Regions from separate parts of the Homo sapiens genome. Here region 1 is linked to region 2. Evidence: promoter capture Hi-C in 16 types of primary human blood cells and fetal thymus (Javierre and others, 2016). All regions are on one chromosome and are shown on one strand. Each heading gives the region's core, a stretch centred on a gene start or on the middle of the fragment in contact. The rest is flanking DNA. Distances are from core to core; before and after follow the strand shown. Region 1 overlaps ATG4B (autophagy related 4B cysteine peptidase). Region 2 holds the start of RTP5 (receptor transporter protein 5 (putative)).

Region 1 (3,711 bases), core at 246-2,745, 210 kb after region 2:
GTCTACTGTCGTTAGAAAGGTCTAAGCCCATCAACGTTAAGGACAAGAAGAGCATGCTAAGGATGTCCTGGCTGGCCTTTGACTGGGGGTGGACAGAAGGATGAGTTGCGGGGGGGATGGGTTGGTGGATGGGGACACTGTAGGCAGTAAGGTCTCCCCTTACCCCACAGGCTTCACCTAAAATCTGAGTGGGAACACCGTCAGGCAGCTCTTTCGCTGCAGGAAGAAGCTTTAGTGGAATTTCTGAATGGCATCAGTCTTCTCCTATCTAACTGCTCCTTCCACAAGCAGTTCCGAGAAACTAGAAGAAAAGTCCTTGCTTAGCCAAGGACACGTCTGTTTCTCTAGCTTCGGCTTTGCGGACTTCTTCCTCAGACGTCCTCCCTTGCGCACTCTTAGCAGCACGACTGAAAAAAGCAGCCTGCTTCCTGCCCTCCCCCCACTACTCCCTCCTGGGGCTTTTGGTAGGGGTCATTCAGAACGACCCCGATGTCCTCCTCACAACACCACGCCACACTCAGGAACCCAGAAACCCAAGCCTTGTGCATCAATGCCAGTGCCTTTGCTGGCTGGATGTGGATGCCTTTCTTCCTAAATGGGGGCATCAGGCACCTTCCACATGCTCCTGTGAGGAACAGTGTCCTTTCAGGCAGCTGACGCAGTGAGACGAAGCCAGTCAGACCAGGCAGCCTCCACATCCTCCCGGGAGCCACCATCCCCAGGGGCTGGGAAATGCAGATTCAAGCTCTTCCAGGACCTGACTCCACTCTCACTCTGACAAGCCACGTTTCAGCAGCACTGCTTTGGGCAGCCCTGAGACTCCCGAAGGGACGGAGCTGGAGTCCACACAGACAAGCTGCCCCCAACACTCCCACCAGTGCTACCTGCACCCAGAGGGACGGAGGTTCTAGGAAGCCCTGACCCTTGCGCCTTCCTGGCCACTGCACCCAGCAACAGCCTCCCTAATCCGAGGCCAGGGACTGAGGTGTGACTTGGTGAGATCCTGAGCACGCGTGCGGAACGAGGGGGTAAGTGATTTCCCCAAACACGGGAGGGAGGATGGGGCAGTGAACAGGGAACTAAGGTATAATAGTATATTGTGTAGCCAGTTAATAATTACAATGCTGTCACTCATGGCCAGGAGAAAATACTTAGGAAACTATGTAAGTTTTTGAAAAGCACAGGAGAAATACTGAGAGTAAGAATGTCAAAATGCTCATATGAGTTATTTCTGAGTGGTAAAATCAATAATTTTTCTCTTTCTTTGTACTCTTCCTGTGTTTCCAATGTTTTATAAAAATTTCAAGAAACAGAATGGAGGAAAAAGGCAGATGGAAGAAACAAACACCCTTTGGTTATGATCCCAAGTTCAAGTCTCTGAGGAACAGAATCCTGGAAGGAGAGCCTGCTGTGGCAAAGCTCTCAATGCTGCAGAAGCCAGCCTCACTCTCCCTTATAAAGTCCTGCCTCACTCCCTCCGCTGTGTCACAATGCCCCCGAGGATGGCCAGACGATGAAGAAACAGAATGGAGAGGCAGGGAAGGGGCGTGTCTGTGACCCAGCACACACCTGTGTGGTGACCTGGCACACCCACAGTCACAGGGCAGGACCCACTCCCACTGTGAATCTGTGCGCAGTTACGGCTGTGGCTCTGAATGAGGTCTTTTTTTTGGGGGGCGGGGGACGGATTCTCGCTCTGTGGCCAGGCTGGAGTGCAGTGGCGTGATCAAGGCTCACTGCAACCTCCGCCTCCCAGGTTCAAGCGATTCTTCTGCCTCAGCCTCCCGAGTAGCTGGGACTATAGGCGCGTGCCACCATGCCCAGCTAGTTTCTGTATTTTTAGTAGAGACGGGGTTTCACCATGTTGGCCAGGCTGGTCTTGAACTCCTGACCTCATGATCCACCCACCTCGGCCTCCCAAGGTGCTGGGATTACAGGCATGAGCCACCGCGCCCGGCCTAAATGAGCTCTTTCTTATGGAAAATTGGATTCAAGGCAATAGCCTACATGTAGAACTTCAATAAAATTGGAATTGAGGGAGTTTTGAGAAGTTCCTTGGGAAAAAGGTGGCCCTGAGTGAAAAAGGCAATGAGGCATTTTTAAGAGTTCTCAGCTTGGCTACATCATGGAAGGTGAAACATGAATTTGGAACTCACTCAATGAGCCCATTTGTTAAAACTGAGCCACAGTTTTCCTCCTAGATGTAAATGTTGCCACGCCCAGGTTCCTTCAGGGTTGCAGCAGACCTTTCTTCCAGAAAGCTGAAAAGAGCTCTGCCTTCACGACGTGCCTTTGCTCGAGATGGTGCAGCTAGAGATGGTTGCTACATCTCTCTGTCGCACATCAAGGCACGCAAAATAACTTCACCAGAATTCCCACACGAGGGCGCCTAAGCACAGCAGGGCCTTCATAAACGATTTGTAACCAAGACACAAAACACGACGTGAGATACCAAGTCGCGGCCTCCAGACAGCCTGGGCTCTCCTCTCTTGGTATGACCGCCGGGATAGGAGAGCGAGGCCACCGTGCATCTGGCTTGGCGCACAGGCCCCACGGAGCACCTGCACGGCATGGGGCGACTGACAACACTCGCCGAGGCTCCCGTGGGGACTCAGGCGAGGAAGTGTGTATGTTGCCCGTGATTTCAACTTTCTTGTCCATGGAAACTCTGAGCCACTTACTGATTTCCTCCATCACAACAGTGTTGTCCATTGCAATGTGGACCGCCAAGGAGCTCCACGTATCGAAGACAGCAAGCTTCCTACAGAGAGTAGGAGAATGACCATAAGCTTTTGTACAATTCAAAGACGGTTCATCTTTGCAGCTATAGCTGCGCGAAGGAGGGTTCGCGTTAGAGGTGCTTCTCGGATGAGAAGGGCCAAGGCTCCTAAAATCCGGGGCACAGCCAATGCCACAGACAGGAAGAAAGCTGAGGGTAAATCTGCTTCTTCTCGCCTGAGGCCCAGGGGTCCTGCCCTTGCCCCAGCCTCCATTCATAGAGAGCACACGCAAGAGGCTTTTGAGTGGCCTGGTTTTCTGGTCTCACTGGCACAGAGGCAGGAACTAGAACATGAACGCAGCTCTGAGACGCTGTGGGTTTTGCCAACTTTGAGGCAGGCCTCCCAGCACCTTCACGCTCTGCTCTGCTCTCCCCTCCACCAAACACGCTGAGCTGACAACCAAGGAATCTGAGTCCTTATAGAGAAATCTGCAGCTTAGTGGGAAGCACGACTGTGCACGCCAGTGAGGAGGAACCATGGCCTTGGATTTCCCCTTCTGAGGGAAGGGCAGATTCTGCAGCCAAAAGTCTAACACGACTCTGATCTCATCTCAGGTCTGGCGGAGGTGGGGTCAGAGGACCTCAACAAAAGGTAAAACAATAGAAAAGGCCCTGAGGCAGCAAAGACCTGGTGCTCCCGGGGACAGAATGCAAGACCTGTGGAGGGGAGCTGGGTGGGGGTGGAGCAGGGGACTGGGGTGACCACACAGAGCCCCTCCCAATGCACAAGCCCAGGGGGGACACTGGGAGGACAGCCTGCCCCCCACTGCCCCCCTGCCCCACCACCTTCCTCCTCCCATCTCCAGCCCAGCTGCAGTGCTGAAGATGGGAGGACAGCCTGCTTCCCCGCCCCACTCCCACACCACCTTCCTCCTCCCACCTCTAGCCCAGATGCAGTGCCGAAGACGCACCCACACACAAGGGACACAGCA
Region 2 (3,672 bases), core at 1,098-3,597:
TGGCGGGGAAGTTGCCTTTTGTGGCGTTGGCGCTCCAGGCGGGGTCTGGGGCCTTCTGGAGGAAGCAGACCCCCAGCTCACAGGCCTCACAGCAGCCCTCATAGGCCTCCCTGGGGTGCCGGGCTGGGCCGGGGCCATCCCCGTAGCAGTCCTGCAGGATGTGCAAGACCAGCCTGCTGAGGAAGGGCTGCTCGCCCGGGGGCCTCACCTGGCAGTCCCCGGGTGCGGGGCACAGCCTGCACCGCTGGCCCCAGATGCGCATCTTCACCAGCCCCCGGTGGCTGGCCCTGTCCCACCACAGGTGGAAGAGGACGTGCACATGGGCCGAGTCCCAGGTCCCCGGACAGTGACCGCACTGGAGCCTGCGGCGGGGAAAGAAGTGTGTGTGAGTGCAGGAGAAAGAGGCCCCACGCCCAGCCCTCGCACTCTGCTCTGCGGCCTCCTTGCCCATCCGACCCCAGCGCCTCGCTGCCCCCTGCCTCACATCCCACACTCAAACCTCAAACCTCACCCCCCAGCCACCCAGGGCCGCGGCCAAGGCAGCCTAGCACCTGCTCCTGCCTGTGCCGAGGCTCTGAAACCACCAGCCCCTCGGCCACACACAGGCAAAAGCAGGCCCATGCGCACTAGCCCGCAGCCCCCTCATGTGGAGCACTGAGAAGCAAAGCAAACCTCCTCTCAGCAGTTTTTCAACAAAACCCGCTCCAGCCTGGCCTCCGTGAGGCGTCGGCAGCCTGCCACCTGCGTGGCTCTGCTGGTGTTTTGTGAGTTGGGGTTAACACAGGAAGAGGCAGGCCTGCCGACACACTTAGGAGGGGAAAAGCATGCATGTGGGGGCTGTCCCTGGGGGCTCAGCAAGTGGGGGTCCCTGTCCTGACTGAGAGGAGGCGATCCAGGAGGTCGCCTGCCAGCTGAGGGGAAGGATGTCACGGAGGCCTGCGGTCATGGCCCGGGCAGCCCTGCTGGGCGTCACCAGGCGAGGAGAGGTTTGGGGAGAGCACTGGGAGGGATTGGCTTGTCCATGGCGGTCATCAGACCGGTGACCATTTGCTAGCCACACAAGCAGCTGTGAGCTTCAGGGAACCCTGCATGAGTGAGAGGCTATGATTCAGTTCCAGGCAGTGGAAGTTTCTGGATGACAGAATGTTCTATAGCCACACTGCCCTGCCTGCAGCCTCCAACCACACTGGCCACAGAGCCCGTGGACACGTTCGTGCTGGAGGAACTGAACTGCTGACTTTATTTAAATGGGACTGAGGAGCCAAAGCCACGGGCGCTGGGGCTGCATGTTGGGGCAGCCGTCCTCAGTTCTCTCCCGCCAGCTGGGAGCCGCTCAGAGCCATCTCCACCTGGCTGTGGGAACAGTGATGTGCTTCCCAGCACTTCTCAGACCCCAACACGGGTTATTACTTTCCCAGCTTCTGAAAAAGCTGGGATTCTGCACACACCTGGCCCCAGGGGTCTCAGGCACTGAGGAGCTGTGTCAAAGGGCAGGACGACTCCCCCTTTGCCCAGGGTGTCTCCACAGAGGGACGGACCAGCCAGCAGCCTGGGGGCCTGTCAGGCCGGGCATCTGCGAGGATGTGGAGCTGCCCCGCGCCCCTCCCAGCTGGCACCCGGCCGAGCTGTGGATGCCTTGCCAGTTGGAGAAGCGCATGGCGCCCGCCCTGCTGCGCTGACGGCACCACAACCGTGATGACGGCCTGTGAGGCTCACTTGTGACCCACAGCCACCCCGGGCCCCCGATCAGGGCCGAGCACCCCGCTGTGTGCAACACAGGGCCGGATGGTGACCACAGGCTCCGGCACGCCCCAGGGCCCACCTGTCAGCACTGATGGCTGCGAGACCACGGCAGTGCCATGGAAGCAGGAGATGAGCCTGTGTCCAAGGGCAGCGCTGGCCCAAGGAGCCGAGTGAGGGAAACCAAACTCTCCATGAGGCACCCGCCATGTCTTCCCCGGGACCCCTGCGTCAGCAGCCGTGTGCCCAGCATGGCGAGGCAGGGGCTCCGGCGGGAGAAGGAGCACCCAGCCCCACCCTCCCGTCTCGGGGACAAGACGAGGCCCAACAGCCCCACCCAGCCTCTGGGACCACCCAAGGTCCCGTGGAAAAGCACCTTCAGCCCCCTGCCTCTCCCAGGGTCCCCAACCTCTGGCCGCACCTCGAGAGCCCCACCAGCAGGTACTGGACACCACCGCCGTCCAGGCATCCCGGGACCAGGCTGTGCTCAGGTAGCAGAACCCAGACGTCCTGGGGCTTCCTCTCGGCCATGGCCAGGGTGAAGGTGCTGGCCCACATGTCTGCCCCAGCCCGGTCCATGCTGCCGCCTGGCTCCGCAGTGTGGGCTGAGGGCTGCGCCCGCCGGGGGCCCAAGGAAACGTCCCCGCATCCCGCGCCGGCCAATCAGCCACCTTGACAACAGCATGGTCTCCATGGCAACCAGATTTGTCTCCGAGAAATGGGAAGCAGAAAGGAAAAATACAATACAATGCAATCTCCCATGACCCCGCCCCCCAGAGAGCATCCCTGTGGCAGCACCGTGGTGGTGGTGGTGGGCGTGGGCCCGTGGACACGCAGGGGCCTCCCCAGACCCGTGCGTGTAGAGGCCCGGGTGTTTTCACACATCGCACCAAGGAATCATCCACAGCCCTCTCTTTCTAGTGCACATCAGGAGCGGTGGCCCACACTCATCCCTTGCTGAACACTTGGTATTTTTCCAGCTTGTGGCTATCATGTAACTTATTCACTCAGCTTCTCTCTGCAAACAGCACTAATGCTTTTCACACAAACAAAGCTGAGAAGAACTTTATAGAACGTGTATCATTGCAGATTGTCCCGTGGGTGTATTCTCTTAAACTTTTTACTAGTGAGAAATATAAAATATTTACATAAAATGCCTAAAACATAAATGCAGAGCTTCACAAATTATTCTAAAGTCTTAAGTCACCACGTCCTATAGGAAGAAACAAAACCTCGCTCTGCCAGCCTCCAGAGCTGGCTGCCTGTTCCCTCCCGATCTCAGCCCGCGGCCCCACCCCCACCCCCTGCCCTCCTGGCAGAGGTGCCACCAGCCTGGCCGTGCCTGCACAGACAACGTTGAGGCTTCAACACCTATGATGCCTCCCTCACCGAGCCCTTTAGCTGTGCAGCTTCTGAGCTTTACATAAACAATTCATGCATGTGCCCAGCTTCTCACGCCTTTTCAGGTTGTTTAATTTCTGAGATTCAACAGCATTGCTGTGCGTGGCAGCCACCTGTCATGGCACAACAAGAAAGGGTGAGCTGAGAAGGAGCCGGGACGTGCAGGGGCGGAGACAGCCAGCTGATCCCTGCAAAACCTCAGCACAGATCTGCCCCCGGGAGGCTCCCGGCCACCCGGCTCTCCTCACAGCTCCCATCTCGCCATCTCTCTGCCCTGCACACTGAACAATCTCTTCTCATTTTTCTACCACTTCACACATTATCTCCTCGTCTCTGTCGACTCTGCAGCTAATGCTGGCAAGCGCCTTGTCATAGTTTTCATTTCTGAACCTTCTTTTCGGCCCTTTCAAACCTGTGACATCTTCCCGCCTTGCAGCTAGGTGTGACTGCAAGATAGAAGAGGAAGCCAGTGGGACGCACTCTGGGAAGGGGCCTCCATACAGGGCCAGACTGCCAGGGAAAGCCCCGCGT

The links. The method cuts DNA at HindIII sites, captures the fragments that hold promoters and counts their contacts. A CHiCAGO score of 5 or more calls a contact.
Region 1: a contact is called between a fragment that was not itself captured here and the fragment with the promoter of RTP5 in region 2, in 2 of 17 cell types (megakaryocytes and endothelial precursors). The highest score is 8.0, in megakaryocytes.

The regions. Positions count from the first base shown.
Region 1 is chr2:241,658,158-241,661,868 of GRCh38, reverse strand. It overlaps ATG4B (autophagy related 4B cysteine peptidase), which reads right to left. Exons shown (of 13, transcript NM_013325.5): 7 at 2,682-2,761. Among named protein-coding and RNA genes, the nearest start is that of ATG4B, 22 kb to the right of the region's middle. RefSeq lists enhancers at 244-743, 744-1,245, 3,618-3,711. The HindIII fragment of the contact is 2,528 bases long and covers 232-2,759 here.
Region 2 is chr2:241,868,404-241,872,075 of GRCh38, reverse strand. RTP5 (receptor transporter protein 5 (putative)) reads right to left here and starts at 2,347. Exons shown (of 2, transcript NM_173821.3): 1 at 2,162-2,347; 2 at 1-362. The coding sequence starts at 2,319. RefSeq lists an enhancer at 1-263. The HindIII fragment of the contact is 6,184 bases long and covers 1-3,672 here.